Regions from separate parts of the Homo sapiens genome. Here all the other regions are linked to region 1. Evidence: promoter capture Hi-C in 16 types of primary human blood cells and fetal thymus (Javierre and others, 2016). All regions are on one chromosome and are shown on one strand. The core of a region is centred on a gene start or on the middle of the fragment in contact, and the rest is flanking DNA. Distances in the headings are between cores, read along the strand shown.

Region 1 (2,700 bases), core at 42-2,541:
ATGATACACATTTGGGAGCCATCAACATATAGATGGTATTTAAAAATAGAAGACTGAAGGAGACCACCAAACGAGAGTACAGAAAGAAGTGTTAGGGTGAGGTCATCCAGCAACAGTATTTTAAGGAAAATGCAAGCTTTGTGATCAGGCCGCAAACAGATCAACGAGAATTGGAGGAATAATAAACTCTTTCCAGGCAGAAGCATTAGATGCAATGGTGCAAAGGTAAGTGATTAGCCAACCATGGTATAGCAAGTCATTTTGCTCTGCTGAAGCAGAAATACTAGCTAGCTGACACAGAAAGATGCATTAAGTGATTGAGAAGGGCTCTCACGCTAGCTGGGTGGCTATCCAGAGCTGGGAATGTGAGGGTTCTAAGGATAGCTTTGGAGTTAACAAGTGACAGCTGCAGTTAGTTTCCTATACATACACAAAACCAACCCGTCCTACCACAGAATATATGTCATAATGCTGGCACAACAGACACATCCCTTTTAGTTTTGCAGACGAGGAGTAACCGTTGCCCTGGACCACAAAGCCACTTAGCGGCAGAGCCTCGCACCCGCGAAGATTATTACTAGGGAGATGTTTTTACCCCTGAGGACACCTGAGCCCTTAAGTGGGGCAGGCTTCGAGGGAGGGGGGCCGATAAGGCGACTTCAGACAGGGCAATCACGATGGGCGCTTGAGTTCTGCGCAGAATTTTGACAAGGGGGAGGGTCTTGGCTTGAAGACAGAGCGTGGAGTCATTTAAGGATAATGGAAGGGCATAAGCAGAAGCTCAAGGATAAAAAGCACTGAAATTCTTGAGCTGGCGGCAGGGCTGAACGTAGCTCAGTGAAAGATCCTTTCTTGCCACATCCTCTCTAAGCCAGGCTGTGAGAACCGCGGGAAACGAAGGAGAAGGGTGGCGGTGGGGTCAGTAAAGGGCCGGCCCAAGGTGCATCTTTTAGGTCCTGATGCTAGGAGCAGCCGTCCCTGCCCCTATATTCCTCTCACTGGGTAGGTTTGCTCGGGAGTGGCTACCTCCCAGGCAAAAATTCGGCCTGGTTAAACTGGAAAGACCAGGAAAGCCCGCCCACGGGCGTCCGGGGAACGCCTGCAAAGTGCCAGCACCCTACCAACCCAGGCGCCGCACGGGTGGGGTCGCGGCCGCAGGCTCTTCCGGGGCGGGCCTAGCCTGACGCAGGAGGAGGGGCGGCCCCCGTCGCACAAGAACCAATCACGACTGTCGCTTCTACGTGGCTAGCATTGACCAATAGGAGACCGTAGTGATAGCGACGGGGAAATTCAAACGTGTTTGCGGAAAGGAGTTTGGGTTCCATCTTTTCATTTCCCCAGCGCAGCTTTCTGTAGGTAAGTTCTGTCTTACCGGTGCACCGGCGCACTGAGGAACAGCCGCAGCCGGTGTAGGGGCTCATTGTTAGCGCTGGTCGGTGAGGGGTGGGGCGAGGTGGGGGCAGCTCGGAGCCAGGTATGCGACGCGGCTAAACGAGCTGGAGGGGGAGGGGATGTCTCACTGCCTCAGCGGGTCTGGCCGGTGGGGTGATGCAGGAGGTTTTGTTGAGGAAGTAAGAAGTGGGTGTGGCCCACGCTGGAAAGAAGGGGTGGTGGGGTACCTGCGCACAAGATCGTTTTCCAAAGGACAGTCTCTCTTGTTTTGGGGGTTAGAACTGGGAAAGAAGCGGGTGGCCGTGATCTGACAGTTATCTTTCAAACCTGACTTAAGAGGTGGAGTGATACCTTGCTGCAACTTTATGACTTTTTTTCATTGTTAAACCTGAAGACGGGGCAGCATTGTTATCAGTGACACTGAGTTGGTGTTTGAGAGTCACAAAGATACGATTAACAATAAGACTGCAGACACTTTATTGAACAAACACCACCACCATGCAGATAAGCAAGTGCTCAGTACCAGTACAATAGTTTCTTAGTGTTAGATTAAGGTAGCAAATCGTGATTCTGCTAGATATGCACAAGAATAAATCTGCGGATTTCCTAATTATCAGTAAAGCCCCATCATGTTTATATTCTGCTTTGAAAGCACTTGCACTGGAAGATTTACTCAAGTAAAGCAGGCGAATAAAGGAATTGTTATTCCCATTGCCAAACGAATTCTTTATGTCTATGTCACTACCAGAATCCAAGCAATCTTTATGTGTATGTCGCTACCAAAATCCAAGCAAACACTCTATCATATTTTTTTTAAGTGACACTAAATTTGCAGATTTCTACAGTGTGACGTCATTGATGTTATATTGGGGGAAAAAGTATACTTGGCCTATGAAACCTTGGTGAATAAATTACAAAGATGTGTACCTTGTTGTTGTGCACTTACCTCCATTAATACTAGCCTAATAATAGCTGCATTTAGATGTGTTCACAAAACGAATGCTTTAGTCGTCTGGGTTCTAAAAAGCTAGTGCATTTTTTTCTTTGATGCTAGTTAAAGTAGGAGTTATGACTGTTCAGTTTTTTTCTTAGAAATGGAATCCGAGGATTTAAGTGGCAGAGAATTGACAATTGATTCCATAATGAACAAAGTGAGAGACATTAAAAATAAGTTTAAAAATGAAGACCTTACTGATGAACTAAGCTTGAATAAAATTTCTGCTGATACTACAGGTGAGTTTTTCTTTTCTTTTAAGTTAGTAACTGTTTGTTGGGTATCCTCTAAGGTAAAGATATAGTACTAATCAC
Region 2 (2,700 bases), core at 194-2,693, 2.2 Mb after region 1:
AGCTATGGAATCAAATGTTAAGGAGTGTCTAAGAAATGCCCTCCCCAGAGCTGATTAGGCTAGGAATCCTGCAGCTTAATGTGCTAGATTAGGAGAAGAACTCAAATCATTTCCAAATTGTTTTGCTCCAGTTAATACCCTGGAGGAAAGAGACTGCGAACTTTCAAAGTAGGCTTATTTTCGAAATCATTTGCCTTGACAATTTTTAACTGATGTTAACTGACATTTCACAAGATAAATTTCAATAATTTAGCTACAAATATATTTTTTCAACATGTCTATAGTGTTATTATATTTTACATCAACATTATATTTTAGTTGCACAAAGACTAGAAATAACATCATAAAGGGCTCAAAACTGCCATTACAATCTCTAAAAATAGAAATGTTGTGCAAATTTAAGAAAACTAACACTATATTTGTGATTCTTATATACCAACCTGGAAACTGTTTTAAAATTAGGGCAAAAATAAGGAAATATTAAAGATAAACCATCTATAAATCTAAAATCTGAAGGTAAGGAGGTAGTGCTTCAAAAAACAAACCTCAATCTTATCTGAATGAAATCCTGTTGTGAAATCAGGGGACTGTAAATCTCTAGGACTACCCACTCCTGCATAGCTTCCTTCAGAGTCTGATGTCAACAGTTCTGGAAGAGATTCCACAGAATTGGTCTTACCAGACTTTAATAATCCTAAAACATGAAATTAAAAAAAATTAAACACATATGCATTAAACATATATGCATTACATTCCATGAACCAGAGAGCTAAAAAAGCTTTCATTTATCCAGATTTAATAACATTCAAATTATATTTATGGTATAAAAATCTTAATAATTCAAGTTAACTGGAGAAAGAAATCAGTTTAAGTGAAAAACTGAAATGGAAGAGATTCTAAAACAATAATTTTATTCATTACAATCACACACCAATTGTGTAATGAACCTGAGGAAGATAGTTCTTTGGGATCTGCTCTAAAAAGTGATTTAAAATATTTTTGTCCGCATAAGAGACAAAGGAGAAAGGGAAAATAATTAAAATCCAGACCTCTTTTCCCTTTCTCATCTGTCTCTTGGTACAGTGGTCTCCGCACCCAAGCAAGGGGGTAGCTTCATTCTATGTGGGAGGAACCCTGTGGCCTTTTTGCCTCTCACTTAGCCAGCTGACTGACCCCATAGCAGAGGCTCCCGCAGAAGACAACTGTGGCCTGTTTGAAGTGTGTTTTTCCCTGAAATCTCTGGCTATTGAGAGCTCGCTTGAAGCAAGAGGGTTGTTGTGAAATGTATATATCATTTCTTCTCTTAGGCAAGCTAAATGCCTGGCCTCATGCCACACCTGGTATCCAGGTTCAAACTTTTGCTTAGATTCACATGTCCATTTCCACACATTTCAAATTTATTAGAATCTAAATGAAGTACCAAAATAAGCTATAAAATAAAGATGTTATCTAACTTGTAACTAAAAGCTGTATAATTGATTTAAAAATAAAACCTACCATCTCTTATACATTGTTCTCTTTAAAGTAAATCACCTTAACAAGCTAAATGTTTCTTTTATTGTTATCACTACAATTTGGAAAGAACATTTAAACATTTTTTTTGCCACACAATCTTTTTGAATTTTTTTTTTTTTTTGAGACAGAGTCTTACTCTATTGCCCAGGCTGGAGTGCGGTGGCATGATCTCAGCTCACTGCAACCTCCACCTCCAGGTTCAAGTGTTTCTCCTGCCTCAGCCTTCCAAGTAGCTAGGATTACAGGCATGCACCACCATGCCCGGCTAATTTTTTTTGTATTTTTACTAGAGACAGCGTTTCACCATATTGGCCAGGCTGGTCTGGAGCTCCTGATTTTGTGGTCCGCCCGCCTTGGCCTCCCAAAGTGCTGGGATTACAGGCAGGAGCCACTGCGTCTTGCCTCTTTTTGAATATTTTTAAGGCTGGCAAATTTTCATCGAAGAGAATACATCTAATATTAGAACACTCTCAAAAGTCAGTTAGAAATAAATCCAGAAAAAAAGAGGACAATTAATGTGGCCAACAATTACTTCTGGTCAAAAACAGTTTTGCTGAATGCCGTTTGTCTAACTTTAAGATCGACACAGATGTTAAGCTTTTACGCAACTGTCTTTGATGAAATTGGCCTCATACTCAAATTTTCTTCCTTAACAGGTCTTTTTGGCCTCCAATTAAATCTGACCTTTTAGTTATCTTTGACTACAGATATCCTGGCCACAGAAAGAACAGTACACCAGGAAAATACGGACCTGGAATCAAGAGAACAAATTTTATTTCTTTTGGTCACTACTTCAAATCACTTATGTTTTTTGAGCTTCTTTCCTTAGGTTTAAAGTAAGGGACATAAATTATTTCATTACTAATGTCTCTTCTAGCTCTGAAATTCTAAGATTCTAACACATATGGTAACAATAACATTATTTAAAACAAACCAAATATCTGCTTTTCCATAAGTCATTTAGGTGACTGGAAAGTCATTACTTTCAAGACTGTCTATCCATTATTCATCCTTCCATCAATCCACCCCTGCCTCCTTCTAAACACTAACGGTAATTCATACAACACAGAGAACACAGAGTCACAGAATTTTAAATTTAGAAAAGTCCTAAGATAATAGCTTTCCCATTTACTAGGTCTCCTGATTCCTATTTTCATTGCTTCATAAATAAATTTTAGGCATATT
Region 3 (2,700 bases), core at 166-2,665, 2.2 Mb after region 1:
AAGTGAGAGGATGGCTTAAGCTCAGAAGGTTGAAGCTGCAATGAGCCGTGTTCTTGCCACTGCACTCCAGCCTGACTGACAAAGCGAGACCCTATCTCAACAACAACCACAAAAATAATGATAATTTCCAGAGACCCTATCTCAAAAATAACAAAAGGAATAAAAATTTACATTCCTTTTTCCTTCTACCTCAATGCTGATGTTACTTTCTGAGTATATATCAATTACTTTACAGTAGTTACAATTATAACAGTCCTCCCATTTTAGATTGTACTTTTATATAGACATAAATATGGATTGAAATTTTAAAATGCAAAATAAAATTGTTCTGAATATGAAACAAAAAATATCCAACATATACCAAAGTAAAATTTCTTTGCAGATAGCCACACACAAATAAATTTCCCCACTACTTTAAGAAGAATAAAATTTCATTAAAATTTTCTAAGCTAAGCTGCACCTTAATGGAATACATTTGTAAAGTTTTTTTTTTTTTTTTTTTTGAGACGAAGTCTAGCTCTATCACCCAGGCTGGAGTGCAGTGGCAAGATCTCAACTCACTGCAACCTCCACCTCCCAGGTTCAAGCAATACTCCTGCCTCAGCCTCTAAGATTGCCTAGAGGAGCTAGGATTGCCTGTAACTAGGATTGCCTGCTACCATGCCCGGCTAACTTTTGTATTTTTAGTAGAGACGGGGTTGTACCATGTTGGTCAGGCTCGAACTCCTGACCTCAAGTGATCCGCCTGCCTCGGTCTACCAAACTGCTGGGATTACAGGTGTGAGCCGCAGCGCCCAGCCCATTTGTGAAATTTTCTTACCAGTATTCTCGAACTCCTGACCTGAAGTGATCCGCCTGCCTCAGCCTACCAAATTGCTGGGATTACAGGTGTGAGCCGCAGCGCCCAGCCCATTTGTGAAATTTTCTTACCAGTATTCTTGAATACTACATGAGTTGGTCTATCCTTCATTACAAGATCCAAAGCTGACAAGCCTTCTTTATCTTGAATATACAGACTAACACCATGCTAAAACAAACAAACAAACAAATACATAAATATATATATATTATTAATTACCTATATCATCAGTAACTTCCTATTTTATTATTATTTTTTTTTTTTTGAGACAGAATTTCGCTCTTGTTGCCCAGGCTGGAGTGATGCAATGGCGCAATCTTGGCTCACCGCAACCTCCACCTCCCAGGTTCAAGCAATTCTCTTGCCTCAGCCTCCCAAGTAGCTGGGATTACAGGCATCCACCACCACGCCCGGCTAATTTTCTATTTTTAGTAGAGACAGGGTTTCTCCATGTTGGTCAGGATGGTCTCGACCTCTGACCTCAGGTGATCCACCTGCTTTGGCCTCCCAAAGTGCTGGGATTACAGGCTGAGCCACCACACCTGGCCGACTTCCTATTCTTATGTATCAAAAAGTCAGATAATCAACCCCATAAATACACTGAAAAAAAATTTAATAATGATTATCTCTCATATTCACACACATTTTTCTCTCACATACTGCAGAGAATAATTAAGAAAAATCACATATCCGACTCTTGCTGGAATAAGGAAGAATCAGAAAATGTGAAGAAATAAAAAATTAACATTTTAAATAAAAATTAACTACATGTGAACTTTTTTTTGCAGGGGGGACGGAATCTCGCCTTTGTCGCCCAGGCTGGAGTGCAAAGGCACGATCTCAGTTCACAGTAACCTCCGCCTCCCAGGTTCAAACAATTCTCCTGACTCAGCCTCCCGAGTAGCTGGGATTACAGGTGCCCACCACCATACCCGGCTAATTTTTGTATTTTTAGTAGAGATGGGGTTTCACCATGTTGGCCAGGCTGGCCTCGGACTCCTGACCTCGTGATCAGCCCGCCTCAGCCTCCCAAAGTGCTGGGATTACAGGTGTGAGCCACCGTTCCCGGCCATGTGAACATTTTTAACAATAAAGCATTTCTGATACCCCTTTAATACCCCATAAATACACTGTCCCTACAAGTCCCTAGCTCTGGGTTTGTGTCTGTGTGGGAGTGCATCTGAACATAAACATTTAACTCTTCTTGCATTTGAGGAGCCACACTCTGCCGGGCGCAGTGGCTCATGACTATAATCCCAGCACTTTGGGAGGTGGGTGGATGAATCGCCTGAGGTCAGGAGTTCAACGTCAGCCTGGCCAACATGCTGAAACCCCATCTGTAGTAAAAATACAAAAATTAGTCAGGTGTGGTGGTGCATGCCTATAATCCCAGCTACCTGGGAGGCTGAGGCAGAAGAATCACTTGAACCCGGGACACAGAGGTTGCAGTGAACCGAGATCGCGCCACTGCACTCCAGCCTGGGCAACAAGAGTGAAACTCCGTCTCAAAAAAACAAAAAAAAATTATCTGGAGAAGGAGAGACATAAAATTTCAAATCAGTTTATTTAGTTTATACTTACTCTATTTTAGTTTGAGGAATTTTTTCTTATTTATAATTTGACAGTTAATTGTTGATGACCTGTTTATTCTGCGAGGTATCTGATATCCCTTCAATATATTTTGTTTATGTTACCATAGTTGGTTCCAGTTGCAGGCAAAAATAACTCTAATACATCAATATTTATCAAGCATGTTCCTATTTGTTCATTAATTTTTGTTGTTATTGTTTTTTTTGGTTTTTTTGAGACGGAGTCTTGCTCTGTCACCCAGGCTGGAGTGC
Region 4 (2,700 bases), core at 61-2,560, 2.2 Mb after region 1:
AAATAAAAGTTAAAATTACCAGGTCTCGGACAATTTGTGGTAAGCATTGGGGATCCAACAGTGAACAAAAATACATGTAGACCCAGATATTCCCAAGCATAATAAATTGCAACGTTTATAAGTATTAATCTGATAGATTTATCTGACTTCCAAAAGATGTGACACATGAACTAAAGACTGAGCAGAAGATAACTCAGATAACTAGATAACGAGGAGATAAGTAGATGAAGCAGGAAAGAAATAACATTCCAGTCAAAGGAATGTAGAATTGCTCCCCTTTTCCCAGGAAAGTTAGATGCTTTCAAAAGTACTTACTGGTTATTTGCAAGACAAAATATTAAAATAATTAGGAAATAGTACAAATGAAATACAATTAAATGAAAAATATATTGTAGATGTGGTTAAGGGAGGAAGAAATCAAAATGAGCCATTTTGTTTGATTTTTAAAAAAATTTTGTGTTTACACATGAAAGAATAGGTCAAAATATATCTACAATGATTGTTTCTATGGTGGGATTATGGGTGATTCTTAATTTCTATCATTTTGACTTTTGTAATTTTCATTGCAATAATTTAAATATTACTTGAATGATTAAAAAAATCAAAGTTTGGAAAAATAATTGACTAGAGTTTCTAAAGTAGTTTTATTTTTTAAAGTAAAAAATAAAAAAACCAGAGATGACTTTAAAAGATTGCAGTGATGGGCCAGGCACAGTGGCTCATGCCTGTAATCCCAGGAGGCCGAGGCAGGCAGATCACGAGGTCAGCAGATCGAGACCATCCTGGCTAACACGGTGAAACCCCATCTCTACTAAAGAATACAAAAAAAATTAGCCGGGCGCAGTGGCGGGCACCTGTAGTCCCAGCTACTCGGGAGGCTGAGGCAGGAGAATGGCGTGAACCTGGGAGGTGGAGATTGCAGTGGGCCAAGATAGCGCCACTGCACTCCGGCCTGGGTGAAAGAGCGAGACTCTGTCTCAATAAATAAATAAATAAATAAAAAGATTGCAGTGATGGGCGGAGGGAGTAGAAAAAGAATAGTACAGGCATCAAGAGTGGAGCACTGCAGAAATATTTCTAAGCCACATGGCATCTATAATAAACTCCCTAAATACCATTTTTCCAAAATAAATTGGTAGTACTATCCTTTATAATTAAAAGTACTGACATCATTATGTGTATTTTGCTGTCTTTCAAGTTGTATAGGAGTAGGAAATGACAGTGCTGGTGGCAGAAGAGAAAACACTAGAATTTGATTAGAAACCCAAACCTGATTAGGTTCTACAAGAATGATTTTTAGAGGAAGATCAATAGTGCAGCTGGCCTAGAGATGACTGGAACCTTATTGTTTAGCCTCATTCTCTTCTACTCCACACCATCTTCTACAGGACATCACTGGTTGACTACAACTTTCTGGCACACAAATTAAGTACCTCACATAAATCACATATCTCACCTCAGGTTTGCCATTAGGGAAGATAGCACTGAGCCTATTATCTCAAGCACAAAAGTTCTAGGCACCTGACGGACTCATGTCGGCTTGGATTAGGTGAGGAATCAAGGATAACATGATTGACATCCTCTATTAGAGTCATGGTTAAAGCAGAGTGAAGAGTAGTTCCCCAAAAGAAAGCAGGGTGAGGCAGACAAAACAATAGGCCACATAGGGTGTTTGTGTTCTTCTGGATTCAGGTGTATGGTCCCAGCTGCGTTCTTCCTATAGAATCATTATCTTTCCAATCCTTACTTACAGAGGGTCACCTCCCCACATATCTGTGAAGACTTTCCGGATGGCCTTTCCTAGCAATTATTCCCTTTATACTGCTTCTATCACTTAGTCATATAATGTATCACACTGTTTTATTTTTAGATTTGTTAGTTTTACTCCTGGAGACAAGGATTCTAGAGGCAAGGTGCCCAGATATAAAGTTTTACTCCTATGCTTACTATCTGTGAGATGTCAGGCAAGTTACATAAACCCTCTAAGCCTAGTTTCCTCATCTCTGAAATAGGGTTAATAGTATTGCTTTCATAAAGTTCTTAAGAAGTTTAAATGAGATTTTATATATATATATAATATAATGTATATATTATATATATGAAGCTCTTAGTACAACTCTTAGCAACTTAATTGACATAACCTGAAATGAACTGCCTGGATGAATCTGTTTCCACCAAATTAAAGGGTGGGATGGGGAAACAAAGAATAACCCACAAGGTGGCAGTATTTGAATGTAACTTTAGAATCTTATGTTTAAAAGCATAGTCCACCAAAAAAATCTGAAATTCAAGGCAAATACTGGAGAAATTCAAGGTAAATTCAAAGCCTAGATGAAATAAGCAGAACTTTGAGATAAATCAAACTTATAAACTTAACAGGCTTAGTATTCTATTACAATCAGAACACTGAACTCCTAAAAGTCTTCCCTTTACGATGACTGAAAAATGTATCATTTGCCTTTCTCAGCCCATCTTACTGAGAATTGCTCCTATTCCTTTTCTACTTAGCTAAATAATTAAATCTGTGTTGTCACTATTAGAAAGAGAGAGAGAGAAGAAAGAAAAAGAGTGAGTTTGATACATAGTGGTTGGAGCCTTCTCTTCATGCCATAAATCCCTAGGACTGATAGAAAAGACATACTTAGGCCGGGTGTGGGGGCTCACACCTGTAATCCTAGCATTTTGGGAGGCCAAGGCAGG

Evidence for each region. The method cuts DNA at HindIII sites, captures the fragments that hold promoters and counts their contacts. A CHiCAGO score of 5 or more calls a contact.
Region 2: a contact is called between a fragment that was not itself captured here and the fragment with the promoter of TTK in region 1, in 1 of 17 cell types (monocytes). The highest score is 7.6, in monocytes.
Region 3: a contact is called between a fragment that was not itself captured here and the fragment with the promoter of TTK in region 1, in 1 of 17 cell types (monocytes). The highest score is 6.0, in monocytes.
Region 4: a contact is called between a fragment that was not itself captured here and the fragment with the promoter of TTK in region 1, in 7 of 17 cell types (monocytes, total B cells, total CD4 T cells and 4 more). The highest score is 9.4, in monocytes.

The regions. Positions count from the first base shown.
Region 1 is chr6:80,003,358-80,006,057 of GRCh38, forward strand. It overlaps TTK (TTK protein kinase), which reads left to right and starts at 1,292. Exons shown (of 22, transcript NM_003318.5): 1 at 1,292-1,356; 2 at 2,485-2,625. The coding sequence starts at 2,487. RefSeq lists enhancers at 329-1,203, 774-893. The HindIII fragment of the contact is 2,460 bases long and covers 135-2,594 here.
Region 2 is chr6:82,195,753-82,198,452 of GRCh38, forward strand. IBTK (inhibitor of Bruton tyrosine kinase) reads right to left here. Exons shown (of 29, transcript NM_015525.4): 22 at 546-694. Among named protein-coding and RNA genes, the nearest start is that of IBTK, 51 kb to the right of the region's middle. The HindIII fragment of the contact is 1,334 bases long and covers 777-2,110 here.
Region 3 is chr6:82,233,229-82,235,928 of GRCh38, forward strand. It overlaps IBTK (inhibitor of Bruton tyrosine kinase), which reads right to left. Exons shown (of 29, transcript NM_015525.4): 3 at 931-1,027. Among named protein-coding and RNA genes, the nearest start is that of IBTK, 13 kb to the right of the region's middle. The HindIII fragment of the contact is 6,415 bases long and covers 1-2,700 here.
Region 4 is chr6:82,249,911-82,252,610 of GRCh38, forward strand. No RefSeq gene overlaps it. Among named protein-coding and RNA genes, the nearest start is that of IBTK, 3.5 kb to the left of the region's middle. The HindIII fragment of the contact is 4,001 bases long and covers 1-2,700 here.